Regions from separate parts of the Homo sapiens genome. Here regions 1 and 2 are each linked to region 3. The links are contacts of gene promoters, found by promoter capture Hi-C in blood cells and fetal thymus (Javierre and others, 2016). All regions are on one chromosome and are shown on one strand. Each heading gives the region's core, a stretch centred on a gene start or on the middle of the fragment in contact. The rest is flanking DNA. Distances are from core to core; before and after follow the strand shown. Region 1 holds the start of ITPK1 (inositol-tetrakisphosphate 1-kinase). Region 2 holds the start of MOAP1 (modulator of apoptosis 1). Region 3 overlaps UNC79 (unc-79 subunit of NALCN channel complex).

What was found. The method cuts DNA at HindIII sites, captures the fragments that hold promoters and counts their contacts. A CHiCAGO score of 5 or more calls a contact.
Region 1: the fragment with the promoter of ITPK1 here is called in contact with a fragment that was not itself captured in region 3 in 2 of 17 cell types (M2 macrophages and M0 macrophages); the score reaches 5.3 in M2 macrophages.
Region 2: a contact is called between the fragment with the promoter of MOAP1 here and a fragment that was not itself captured in region 3, in 4 of 17 cell types (M2 macrophages, M0 macrophages, M1 macrophages and 1 more). The highest score is 9.4, in M2 macrophages.

What each region holds. Positions count from the first base shown.
Region 1 is chr14:93,114,079-93,118,523 of GRCh38, reverse strand. ITPK1 (inositol-tetrakisphosphate 1-kinase) reads left to right here and starts at 2,599. Exons shown (of 11, transcript NM_014216.6): 1 at 2,599-2,752; 2 at 3,219-3,455. The coding sequence starts at 3,361. The HindIII fragment of the contact is 12,611 bases long and covers 1-4,445 here.
Region 2 is chr14:93,183,478-93,188,067 of GRCh38, reverse strand. It overlaps MOAP1 (modulator of apoptosis 1), which reads left to right and starts at 3,171. Exons shown (of 3, transcript NM_022151.5): 1 at 3,171-3,258; 2 at 3,355-3,509; 3 at 3,706-4,590. The coding sequence starts at 3,826. It overlaps LYSET (lysosomal enzyme trafficking factor), which reads right to left and starts at 2,751. Exons shown (of 2, transcript NM_001098621.4): 1 at 2,583-2,751; 2 at 1-1,808. The coding sequence starts at 2,662. The coding sequence ends at 1,397. The HindIII fragment of the contact is 7,901 bases long and covers 710-4,590 here.
Region 3 is chr14:93,531,914-93,536,526 of GRCh38, reverse strand. It overlaps UNC79 (unc-79 subunit of NALCN channel complex), which reads right to left. Exons shown (of 52, transcript NM_001395159.1): 11 at 3,949-3,977. Among named protein-coding and RNA genes, the nearest start is that of UNC79, 100 kb to the right of the region's middle. The HindIII fragment of the contact is 620 bases long and covers 1,827-2,446 here.

The DNA of each region.
Region 1 (4,445 bases), core at 1,350-3,849, 420 kb after region 3:
TTACCGTGCCCTTATTTACGGTGTTCTTCCCTTTTCACCCTCTGAAACTTCGCACCTGTTTTCGCCTTTGCCTGGAATGTTGCCTCCTTCCCCCACTGAACTCCTTCCTACTCATCCTTCAAGATCCTATGCCACAGTCTCCCCAGTCATGCAGCAAAATGGGACAGATTGCCATCTTCCTTCCCATTTCCCTCTCAGCTCTCACCCCACGTTTCCTTTTTTCTTTCTTTTTTTTGTTTTTGAGATGGAGTTTTGCCCTTGCCGCCCAGGCTGGAGTGCAATGGCGCGACCTCGGCTGACCGCAACCTCCGCCTCTCTGGTTCAAGCGATTCTCCTGCCTCAGCCTCCCAAGTAGCTGGGATTACAGGCATGCGCCACCATGCCCACCTAATTTTGTATTTTTAGTAGAGATGGGGTTTCTCCATGTTGGTCAGGCTGGCCTCGAACTCCTGATCTCAGGTGATCCGCCTGCTTCGGCCTCCCAGCGCCCAGCCTCATCCCGTGTTTCTAATCAATGGCTTGTGTCCATTTTCCTCTGCCACACACTGGGCTCTCGTGTGTTTGCCAAAGGAGTGAGGGAATTCCAGGAACCCTCCTGAACCACCCAGCCTCAACTGGTCTTTCAGTTCCTAAGAACAGCAGGACATTTAAAGTCGATGCCTGTAATCCCTACTGCTGACTTCAAGTATCAAGTTTATAGTTGCTGCCCCCATCCCCTTCGTTTTTACTCCCTTAGCCGCCTTCTTTTTTTTTTTTTTTTTTTGAGACGGAGTCTCACTCTGTTGCCCAGGCTAGAGTGCAGTGGCACGATCTCAGCTCACTGCCAGCTCTGCCTCCCAGGTTCACGCCATTCTCCTGCCTTAGCCTCCCAAGTAGCTGGGACTACAGGCGCCCGCCACCACGCCCGGCTAATTTTTTGTATTTTTAGTAGAGACAGGGTTTCACCGTGTTAGCCAGGATGATCTCAATCTCCTGACCTCATGATGTGCCCACCTCGGCCTCCCAAAGTGCTGGGATTACAGGCATGAGCCACCATGCGCAGCCTCCCTTAGCCTTCTTTTATCCATCTTGTGCCTCGGCCCTAGGGGTCCTTGCTATGATCTTCCCTTTATCCAGCTTTCCATGTCCCCCCCAGGAGCCAGGCATTCTAAGCCACAGAGCTGACCCTGGAACCTGTCACCACTTACCTTCTAGGCTCCCATGGCCTATGAAACTCGCAGTACCCTTGCCTAAGGCATGCAGTGCCCGTCCCTAGCTGGCCCCCTGGAGGAGTCCTGTTTCCCACCCATCGTCTTTTCCACTCTCCATCCATCCGTTTTCTCTACCTTGTTAAAGAAAAAAACTAATCAGATTCTCGTTAAAGATGGCAGGGAAGCCAGGCGGGGTGGCTCAGGTCTACAATCCCAGCACTTTGGGAGGCCCAGGTGGGAGGACAGCTTGAGGCCAGGAGTTCGAGACCTGCCTGGGCAACACAGTGTAGTCCCAGCTGCTCGGGAGGCTGAGGTGGGAGGATCAGTTTAGCAGGGGTGTTCGAGGCTGCAGTGAGCTATGACTGCACCATTGCACTCCAGCCTGGGCAGCATAGAGAGATCCTTGTCTTTCTTTTTTTTTTGAGACGGAGTTTCTTAATGTAGGCCGGCCAGGGTGATCACATACCAAGCGTGGAGATATTCTTGACAGCAGGATTCTGGCTAAAACTGGACTAAGAAGGCCAAGGACAGAGCCCAAGGTCGGGGCCTGGTCAGAAAGAGGTCTCGGAGGAGCCTGACTCAAGTGTGATCAAGGGAAGTCTTGGTCACCCGCTGGCAACTTGGCTTTTTCTTGTCTCCCAGCCTCAATTCAAGCTCATCCCCCTTCCCTGCTCCATCAAAATCTCCTTGATTTCCAAGGCCAGCTTCAGTGTCTCCTCTCAAACTTTTCTGAGCCTTCCCTCCACGGGAATCCATTTTTCCTGCCTGGGCCTGGGGAGAGAAGTCCATTTCTCCTTCCCAAACCCAGAGACCATTGAGGCAGGAAAGCTCCCTGGCTGCCCCATAGGGCAGGGCAGGGTAGGCGGGGTTTAGTGACTCCCCGGCGCCGACGCTGACCCGCACCCCTGAGGAAGGGGTCTCCGGGGACGGCCGCTGTTGTCGCTGTCGCCTCCAGTCCCCGCCCCTTCCCCCCTCAGTGAAGGGGACCTAGAGTGAGAACTGGTGGTCACGTCCTACGCCTAGGAGGGCCCCTGGGTGTTCACCCACCCCCCCGGGGGGCCCCATCCTGGGCCAGGGTCCGCTTCCTCGAGGGAAGGGGCGAATTCCTGGAAGGTCTCCTTCCGGGCGCAGTTGCAATGGATTGCCTTGGGGGTGCTGAACCCTGCTGGGGGTACAGAGACGTTTCCGAAACTCAGCGGCTCGGTCGCCCCCAAAGGCCAGGCGGAACACACGCCCACACCGCGGCTCCCTTCCCGAAGTAAGACCGCCGGGCCACGGCCGCCCCCAGGAAGCCCCGCGCCCCGCACCCCACACCCGGGGACACAAACAGGCGCCGGGTAGCCGCGAGGGCCGGCGCGGCGCCTTTAAGAGGCGGCGGGCGGCGCTGCCCCCTGGCGGCCGCCCCGCCGCTTCCTCGCCGCCGCGGGCTCAAGCGGGGCGGCCGGGCCAGCGCGGGGCGGCGGCGGGCAGGGGCGGCGAGTGCGCGGGCGCTCGCCGCCGCCCTTCTCGGCGGGCAGCGCGCGAGGACCAGGCCGAGGAGGAAGTGGCGGCGGCGGCGGCGGGTGAGGATCTCTGGCCGGGCCGAGTGGCCGCGTGCGCCCCGCCGGGGTCCAAGCGCGCCCAGGGGTTACGGCCCGGCTGGGAACATCAGAGGGCGAGGACCCGGGCGGGAGGAGGAGGGAGGAAGGGCTCGGAGGCCGCGCTTCTGCCGCCGCCTGAGGGCGTGTGGCTCGGGCCCGCGCGGCGGGAGGGCGGGCAGGGCGGGGGCGGTGTCTGCGGAGGCCCGGCTTCCCCTCCTGCGGGCCCTGGCCCCAGCTCCGACTCAGACTCAGGCTCAGCCGTGCCCCAGCCTCAGCCGGCAGGCCGGGCGGCGCGGCGCTCGCGAGCCGGTGGGCGGGCGGGCGAGCCCGCAGGCGGCGGGGGCGTGGGCGGTGGCAGCTTGGCCCAGCCAGTGGCCTTCCGCGCTGAGCGCCGCTCCCTCCTCCCGGCCGCCCGCCGCGCCCCGCCCCGCTCCGCTCCGCGCGGCAGGACTGCGCGCCCCAGCTCCGATCCCCGTTCCGCGTCCCCGCCGCCGGGAGGAGGTGCCCACTCGCTCGCGGCGCGCGCCGGCCGCCAGACTCGGCCTGTGGGCGATTTCCTCCGGACCCAGGCTCCCCGCCCGAGGAGGAAGATGCAGACCTTTCTGAAAGGGAAGAGAGTTGGCTACTGGCTGAGCGAGAAGAAAATCAAGAAGCTGAATTTCCAGGCCTTCGCCGAGCTGTGCAGGTAAGGAGGGACGCGGCGCCGGCGCCCGGGGACCCCCGGCCCGAGCCCGGTGACCCCCGGCCCGAGCCCGGTGCAGCCTCATTAGTTGTTTTGGGAGATCGGAGCCAAACGGGAAGAAGCGGCGCGCGGGGAGACTGAGTCCGAGCAGCCAGGTGGCGGTGGCGGCCGCCGGCCGCGTTCCAGGGAAGCGGTGGCCGGTGCGGGCGAGGTGGCACGGACCGGGGCGTTCAGGTGCACTGTGACCCGGCTGGGGAGGCCCCCAGCAGCCCAGGGCGCGGTGGGAGTTCTACTGAGGGTTGCGGAGGGACCTGGGAAATCGGGGCATCCACGCTGTGGGGTAAGGGCTTGAGGGTACTTTTGGACCGGAGTGTTTTTCTTCCTTCGTCCCCTTCCCTTTCATGAAGAAAGGGCACCCACGTTTGTGGACCACCTACTATGTGCCCCGCGTGTGCTCGGCTCTTGAGGCTGTCATTGCATATCATGAGGTTAAGCCCAGTTGAAGCGAGTAGCAATTCTTGGCATGTATGTGGTGATTTGCTGTCTCATTAGAGCCTCGCAGCAGCCCTGCAAATTGGCCAGGGTGGTGATTCTGGGCCACCTGTCTGAGAACGGGGACCGATCGGCAGAGGAGCGGGGTACCTAGCTTGGGGTCCCGCAGCTAGGGAGTGGCTGGTGCGTAGAAAGTGCTGGGTAAATGCCCGTGGTGTGGAGTGGCCTTCTGCCATCTGGGCTGTGTGCCCCTGCTCCCACCATGCTGGTGCTCCTTGGCGGAGTCTCCGGTGTTTAACAGATCACGTTCTTAATAAATTACAGAACTACTGAGTCTTGGGTCAGGTAGGCCTTCCCTTGCTCCACAACTGTAGCTTTGCCTCTGAGAAGCAGTTAAGCCCTTTTCTCAATGCAAGCCTAAGAGAATCTAGCTCTGAAAGCCTTTTGCAAACTCCAGGTGGAAACCTTTTGTGATGCAGCTTGTTAGACTGATTTTTGAAA
Region 2 (4,590 bases), core at 1,922-4,421, 350 kb after region 3:
AGAATAGCATGAACCTGGGAGGTGGAGGTTGCAGTGAGCTGAGATCGCACTTCTGCACACCAGTCTGGGCTACAGAGCAAGACTCCATCTCAAAATAAATAACATAAATAAATACAGCTAGGCATGGTGGCTCATGCCTGTAATCCCAGGCCTTTGGGAGGCTGACGCAAGTGGATTACCTTAGTTAGGTGAGGAGTTTGAGACCAGCCTGGCCAACATGCTGCAACCCTGTCTCTACTAAAATAACAAAAATCAGCCAGGCATGGTGGTGGTCACCTGTAATCCCAGCTACTCAGGAGGCTGAGGCAAGAGAATCGCTTAAACCCGAGAGGTGGAGGTTGCAGTGAGCCGAAGGTTCCAGTGAGCCAAGACTGCACCACTGCACTCCATCCTGGGTGACAAAGCAAGGCTCCGTCTCAAAAATAATAATAATAATTTAAATAAATAATAAATAACCTGCTAGATTTTCATTGAACACATTGTTTCCATCTTCTATTTGTAAGTTATTTCTAGCCTTTCAACATTTAACACTTAGTTTCTTCCCAGATAGTTTTCTAAATCAGTAGCATTGGAGCGTACGTTCTCAGGGCCTTCTGAGACTGTGTCACAAGTCATGGAAAAAAAAAATTTTTTTAATTAAAAATAGCTGGGCATGGTAGCTCACACCTGTAATCCTAGCACTTAGGGAGCCAGAGAGAGGAGGAAAGCTTGAGCCCAGGAGTTCGAGACCTGCCTGGGCAACATAGCGAGACCCCATTCTCCACAAAAAAGAAAAATATAAAAAATAAAACCATTAAAAGCATTAATAATAATTTAGCCATTACCAAGAGGAAGAACAAATTCTGCTTATCAAGACAGCCATTTCCTCAATAATTTTTTAGCAATGCCTCATAAGCTGACAGCAAGTCTAGACAGCTGGCTTAGCTGCAATAGAATGAATCGGTGTTTTAAGTGTGAAGAATTTTAAAGCAAGCCAAGTAATTGTATAAAATTTAAATTTTATGATCATGTCTGGACCTTTTTACACTTAACACAATGGAAATGTTCATATTCATTTTTTTCCCCAAAGGAAAAATTTCTGAATCATCACTATGTTGCACAGTAGAATAGAAATATGAATTCAGGTACTTAGTCAAGTTTCTAAAGAATGCAAATAACAGACATGATTTAACTTCCAAAATCTGAAGTCATCAACATGATTTTGTAGTACTCTATCTCAGGTTTTACCTAAAAATTCGTTATTATTCAGATAAAGATAGCTCCCTAATCACATGTTTTTAAAAAGCCTCTGCCCCACGACAACTTCCTGAGATCTGTGAAGAAACTGCAGTCTTGTGATCAGACTCCATATAGGACTGGCAGTTTTGTAATCGTAGGGAAAAAACGGTGACTGATTTTACGTGTCAATCAGTTGTAGTCTGCTGATCTGATTAGAAGCCTTGACAAATGCCTGGTGGCGATTGCAAATAACTGCCAAGCATATAGGGATGATACAGTAGCCCACTGTTTTGGGATCAGCTCTTGTACAAGAGTATAGGAACAAAAACATCTGTAAGTAAGGTACCAGAAAAATAACTGTCCACACCCAAAAAGGCAAGGAGAGTAATTGAGCTTTCAAGGAGTGTGTCCATGTGGTTCCTTCAAGGGGCTCCTCAGGGTGCTGTTGAATGTGTTCCAAGGCCAGCCTGTTGTAAGTCTCACTGATTTCAAAAACATAGTAAAATGCTGCTGCACTGGCTAACAGATACAATCCCACTCCAATCCATCCCATCCGCTGACGGAAGTTCATCATTCTCCATGCTCTGTGCCTTCAAATTAAAAAAGAAAATACAATTAGGGTCTAGTAATGCTGTCACGGCAACTACTCCAAATGTACTTGCTTTATCTCCAAGAATTCTAGGCCGGGCGCGGTGGCTCGCGCCTGTAATCCCAGCACTTTGGGAGGCTGAGGCGGGTGGATCACGAGGTCAGGTGATAGAGACCATCCTGGCTAACATGGTGAAATCCCGTCTCTACTAAAAATACAAAAAAAATAGCCGGGCGTGGTGGCGGGCACCTGTAGTCCCAGCTACTCGGGAGGCTGAGGCAGGAGAATGGCGTGAACCCAGGAGGCAGAGCTTGCAGAGAGCCGAGATCACGCCACTGCACTCCAGCCTGGGCGACAGAGCGAGACTCTGTCTAATTAAAAAAAAAAAAAAAGAATTCTAAAATATCCCACTAACACACTTAAGATTTAAAATAATTAAATTAAACACCTATTAAGAAATGTAAAACTTACAGGTTGTTTTGTGTAATACTTACAATCAAGTAAAACAACACACACAAAAAAACAAAAAACCATTGATTTCAGTATATACTGAGTTCTGCTTTTTAACGGGAATCCCTCAGAATAAATCACTGCATCCTACTTAAACAGGTCCATAATACCCGCCCTCCAGAAACTGGAATTAAACTAGTTTCTCACAGCACATTTCACTTTGACAGGTGAAACACTTTCTGGCATAACAGTACTGCTTCAGACGTGAACGCGGGGTGCTACAAGTCAAGCCCCCAAGTTAAGACAGTAACTCCTAAGCACTTACAATGGTCCCGAAAATCTTCCTGTTCCCACGGCAAGCGTTAAAGAGTCACTCAGCTCTGAATAATCGGGTGGCTTTGGCATTTCAGAGAAAGCCAACATAAAATAAATCCCCTGGGTCACCCGGCTAGGAGAAAGGTGAGCGCCGCCAGCCTGGAGCACCAGCTACTAGTGATTAAGAACGGCGTGACTGCGGCGGGTCACGCGCGGCCCGGCCCCCGTCGCCGCCGCCGGAGACCCGCTCTGAGAACCTGACCCGGCAGGGAGGCGTCCCCGCCACTTGGGCCTCCGGGCGGCCGGCCCCGCCCCCTGCCGCGCTGCAGCGCCGGCACGCCGCGACCAAGGCTGCGCAGGCGGCGCCAGGCCCGGGCCTCGCCGCCTTGCAGCGCCGCGAGCCCAGCGCCCGTCAGCGGTCGCCGGCGGAGCCTGCTTGCAAAGCTGAGGTCCCGGATCTCACCTTCCTGTCCCGTGGTGGCCAGCCCGCCCGCCGTCCCGGATGCCGCCGCAGTCGGAGCTTCCGGCTCGGGCCGGAAGCGCGCGCGCCCCGCCCCCGAGGCCCGCCCCTCATGACGTCAGATCGCCCCCGCCCGCCGCGCAGCTTCCCCGAGCGAGACCAAAACAGGTGGAATCCGGGCTGGAGCCGGAGCTCCGGCGGCGCGGGTGGCGGCACGTCCCTCCAGGTGGGTGGCTCTCTGGGTCTGGCGACTCAGCGCTCCTCAGCCTTGCCCCCTGGTGCCCGCTCGCGACTGTCATCGCCCCATCACTTCTCGTTGCAGACAGTACCACAGGCACCTGGAGTACCGGCATCGGTCGCTGTGGCCCCCGAGTGTCCGTCAGAGCCTAGGGGAGCCTGCCCTCCCGCGCCTCGTCGGGGCCCGGCCAGGCACCTTGGCCGCCGGCGCACGGACGCGGGCACGAGCACTAGATCACGGTGAGTGGAAGCGGGCCCGACGCGGCCCTGCAGGCCCGACATCCGCCAGGCACCAGGGCTGGGAGGGGTGAGGGGCGCGCGCCGCAGTGCGGCTGCCCTGGCGTCGCCGCTGGGGGCAGGGCGCGCGGGGCTTGGGGCCTGCACGCTTGCCCTGGACGTTGGCACCTTTAGCTAACCTGTCTGCTCTGTCTTGCAGGCTGCTGGACCTCGGCACGTTGACAAGATTTCTCTGGGGTACCGCGGAGGATTACTTTGAATTTCGGTGGTCGCCTGTGGTCTGGCATATTTAGAACTTAAGTCTATTATTTCGGGCACCATGACTTTGAGGCTTTTAGAAGACTGGTGCAGGGGGATGGACATGAACCCTCGGAAAGCGCTATTGATTGCCGGCATCTCCCAGAGCTGCAGTGTGGCAGAAATCGAGGAGGCTCTGCAGGCTGGTTTAGCTCCCTTGGGGGAGTACAGACTGCTTGGAAGGATGTTCAGGAGGGATGAGAACAGGAAAGTAGCCTTAGTAGGGCTTACTGCGGAGACTAGTCACGCCCTGGTCCCTAAGGAGATACCGGGAAAAGGGGGTATCTGGAGAGTGATCTTTAAGCCCCCTGACCCAGATAATACATTTTTAAGCAGATTAAATGAATTTTTAGCGGGAGAGGGCATGACAGTGGGTGAGTTGAGCAGAGCTCTTGGACATGAAAATGGCTCCTTAGACCCAGAGCAGGGCATGATCCCGGAAATGTGGGCCCCTATGTTGGCACAGGCATTAGAGGCTCTTCAGCCTGCCCTGCAATGCTTGAAGTATAAAAAGCTGAGAGTGTTCTCGGGCAGGGAGTCTCCAGAACCAGGAGAAGAAGAATTTGGACGCTGGATGTTTCATACTACTCAGATGATAAAGGCGTGGCAGGTGCCAGATGTAGAGAAGAGAAGGCGATTGCTAGAGAGCCTTCGAGGCCCAGCACTTGATGTTATTCGTGTCCTCAAGATAAACAATCCTTTAATTACTGTCGATGAATGTCTGCAGGCTCTTGAGGAGGTATTTGGGGTTACAGATAATCCTAGGGAGTTGCAGGTCAAATATCTA
Region 3 (4,613 bases), core at 887-3,386:
CAGCCCAAAAAAGAAGATGTTTTGGGATTTCCAAACTTCTATAAGCAAAAAATAGGCTGATAAAACTACTTAGCTGTAAATGACAGGCTACTTTTTATGAGAAGGAAAAGATGGGCATCTCCCAGAGGGTGGGGCCTAGAGCCAAAGAGACCAGCTCCCAGGAAGCAGGACTCGCACCTAACTAAGGAACAAGTGACATGTGCCCTGTGACTTTCAGAATTTCTAAGGACTCCAGATACTCCATAAGAAATTACTCAAAATTTAGCGGCATAAAACAGCAACATTTAATTATGTTCATAGGCTCTGTGGATCAGAGATTCGGACATGACTACCTTCCTCTCATTTCCTCACTTTTTACATGAGTCTCTACTGCAGTAATCCTACCCCTGTATCACTATTGCATGTTAGCTGTGCAGGATGCAGATAACATTTCTTTCATTCACAAGTATTCAAAGCAAAAGGAAGAATACTTAAGGAGCCAAGCCCAAAAAGCCTCATCTACACCTGAACTTGATTTTGATGAGAAGATCTTGGACCTCCAGTCAGGATTTTGCAAGTGGAAAGAATGTAAATAATCTGTGACCAGAGGCGGGTTCTCCACACTCCTCCCATCAAGAAGTCAAGGATAGTTTCCCTCCCCTTGAATCTGGATGGGCTTGCAACTGCTTCAACCAATATAGCATGACAGAAATGATGCTTATAAAAGGACACGCAGCTTCCACTTGCTGCCTTGAGATGTTCTCTCTTCAGAAACTTCCTCATTAGATACTCCTCCCAGATCTCTGCCAGGATGCCATGAGACAGCCAAGCCACAGGGAGAGACCATGTTTCAGTCTTGAGTCAATGGCGCTGGCTTAGCCTAGTCTTCAAGTCACCCCATCCCAGAGCCCAAACGTATGATCTAGAAACCTCTAGATAATTAAAACCCTCAGCATTCAAGTCTTCCCAGATGAAGCCCCAAACATCATCAAACAGAGACAAGCTATCTCCATCATGCCCTGTCCGAATCTCTGATCCACAGAGTCTATGAACATAACTAAATGTTGCTGTTTTACGATGTAAATTTTGAGCAATTTCTTATGGAGTATCTGGATACACTGCATATGATAATATCTGGAATACCGACTAAAAGTCAACCTGCTTTATTACCACATGCCATCAATTCTAAACAATGTCAGCAATAAAATACATTTCCCCAAAAATAATCTTCAGTTGATCGAAGTTCTAAATAATTGCTAGGATTCCTACTAAGTTTTGATAATATATTTGAAAGGCCTCAACCCATGTGGATTCAGCTCATTCATTTCCAAACTAAACTAGAGAGGCTTCCCTTAGATGGAGATTCAGCTGGACATGTTTTCAAATGTTCACTCCAACCACTTTGCTTCACTGCTTTGAATTTTAAACACATAGAAATAACTCCAAGTGGTCTCACAAAATCACAGAATTGAAATAATCAAGGTCTGTCTCTTCATCTTTCCAATCACGATGCTATCATTGCTTATTTCAAATATACCATTCAGGGAATATGCAGTACAAAGAGGTAGAATACAAACTACCCAGGGCAAGCTCATACAATTCTGAACTGTTATGAACTTAATGGAAATTCTCCAAATTAATGTCTGTGTAAAACACAATGTTTATTAAAGGATAAGCAATAAAAATGTGCTAATTTGAAGCTTGTTACTAAAAATAAGTTTGTCATATAAAGAGGGAAGTGTTAAAAAATGATCTACCCTGGGTGTCAAATATGTTACGTATGTCCCCAGAGCCAAAACATGCTGATTTAGAAAATAGAACTGTTTGAAATCCTGGTCCCACAAGCTTAGAAACGATTCTCAAAGTAAGAATGGCCTCAGGATAAAGATCAAAGGAAGAATATGGTCTATGACTCTAAGATCCTTTGTTAAGGCTTCAGAAAGTTATAAGGCGATGTCTAATTGAGGCTCTCAGCTATAACAGGGCTTCTAATAATTTTAAGGGCACACTGAAACGCCCAAAATATAGGAAGGACTGCCTCAAAAATCATTATAGATGTGGCTTTGGGGGCTCAGGACCCCAATGAGATTCACTAAAAATCCACAAAGTTTTTAAGAAAGTCATACTAGCAAAAGCACCACCAGCTAAAACTAAAGAGACGCAGTTCTAAATGAAAAGAGATATATGGGACCCTAACTCCTACATGCACGAAGCAGATTGAGAAAGTTACTCAGCTGCAACATGGACCATTTCTTATTGAAAAGAAAAGATGTCTCAGAGAGTGGAGCCAAGAGCTCAGGAGGACAAGAACAGATTAGGGAACTATTTCTAGGAAACAAAACCAGATCATAATCAAGGCATGTATGCTATTCCTGGAGACAGAGGAACTGTTGATGTGTTTATGGCTGGAGCTGCTATAGACCAATGACTGCTATCTGCTTTCCCTTCCTCTTTTTGAACAGAAGCTTATTGCTATGATCCTGTCCCTGTCTCAACATTGTGTCTTGGGTGCAGAGAGGGAAGATAACTTTCCTTCTTAGTTCACAGGACTCTGAATCAAGAGAATCAGTTACCAAGAAGTTTAATCAGTGACATATCACATGCAGATCACAAGATACTAGACTTTAAGCCTGAAGCCATAAATGAATAAGACTTGTGGAGGTCATATAAAATGGTGAGCATATTTTGCATATGGAAAGAAGGTAAATAATTATGTCCAAAGGACAGATTGTGGTAGATTAAATGTGACCATAAAATTCTTGCCAATCCTTCAATAACCACAAAGATCCTATTTCTCCACTCTTTGAATCTGGGCCGGCCTTGGAACTTGCTTTGACCTGTTGAATGCTACAGAAATGATGCTGTGTGACTTCTGAGAGGCCTTGAGTGAGTGAGGCTCTCTCACTCTCTCAGAAGACTGCCACCTGTGAACAAGTCCAGCCTAGCCCCTGGACGATGAGACATCATGTGGAAAGAGAGGCCCAGACACCCCACCCATCTCACCATTCCAGCCATCCCAGCTTAGCCCCAGATATGGGAGTGAGACCATCTGGGGCCAGCCAATTCCAGCTTACCCACCAACTGACTGCAAATACATGAGTGAGCCTAGAGTAATTTATCAAAAGAACTGCTTAGCTGAGCTGAGCATAGGACAAATTGCCAATCCACAGAATTGTGATTAAATAATTGGTTGCCATATGAGACACTATGTTTTCAGATGGTTTGTTATGCATCCATAGATAACTGAGACAGCCCTCCAATATACCTACTCACAATCAACATCCCAAAAAGTTTAAATGATGTGTGCAAGGTCCACATAGGTAGGAGGGAACAGAACTGGCCAGAGTCCAAGAATCTCAACCAACTAGTCAAAAATTCTTTTTTATGACATCATACTGCCTCCTCTTACTCTTTTCAATTATTAAAACAAGAAGAGAAGATGGAGGTGGTTTAGAGAAACTATTATTAAAAAAAAACTAAAGGAAATATTAAAGGAAGAATCTTTAGCTACATGTATTGTTCAACTTACACATAAATACTTTCCATATACAGTCAGTCTGGGTATGTTTTTCACACATACAAATTGGACTATTTGCACTCCACTTCAAAACAATTGAGATTTCTAGCATACAAGATATATCCTTAACTAAAGTTAAGTACCATAAATTGCAGTATAATTCAAACCTTTTTCTAATTGGACTCCTATCCCAGAATTACACATAGGCTTTTATTGCAAATTACTGAACAAAAGCATTGTGCATAAGATGGGTGAGCAAAAGCAGAAATGGAAATAGAGACCATTTGGATGTAGCAATCTTGCATGCTAAATTATTTCCTTTACCCCTCCACAAATACAATGGCATGCATATACTGGAAACCACGGTGCAGAAATGAGGCAGATGTCAATAAATGAATTTACATACAAACACAATAAATCATGCCCCAACGACACAAATGGTTTGCTCTTACCTTTTTCTGACATATAGCAGATATTTCAGCTGTAAGGGGAAGGCACACAAAATATCAACAAAGAAAGAGAGCCCCTCTAATTTTTATTTAATTAATTAATTTATTTTTTGAGACAGTGGCTCACTCTGTCAATCAGGCTGGAGTGCAATGGCACCATCATAGCCCACCACAGCCTCTTGAACGCCTTGGCTCAAGTGATCCTCCTGACTCGCCTTCTAAGCAGCTAGGCAGTGGTGTGGGCTTCCATGCCCAGCTAATTTTTTTTTTTTTTTTTTGTAGACATGGGGTCTTACTATGTTTCTCAGGCTGTTCTTCAACTCCTGGCCACAAGCAACCCTCCTGCCTTGACCTCCCTCCAAAAGGCTAGGATTACAGGTGTAAGCCACCATGCCAGGTCTAGAGCCCATTTAAAATAAGGGCAGCCATGAAGGGGGAATCTTTTAAATCTTAGTAATATGACCTCTGGACTTGGCCCAAACAGATTTTCACTTGGCTCATAAATTATCGTCTACTTTTATTGGCTTCTAGTTTCCTCAGAAATCATGAAATAGATCTCTTTTCATCTAGTAGTGTATGTTTAGTGAGGTTAAAAACACCTGCACACTGCTACTTTTACAAATAATTTAATCTTTTCAGACATGACTTAGAAATCAAATCTTGTTAAA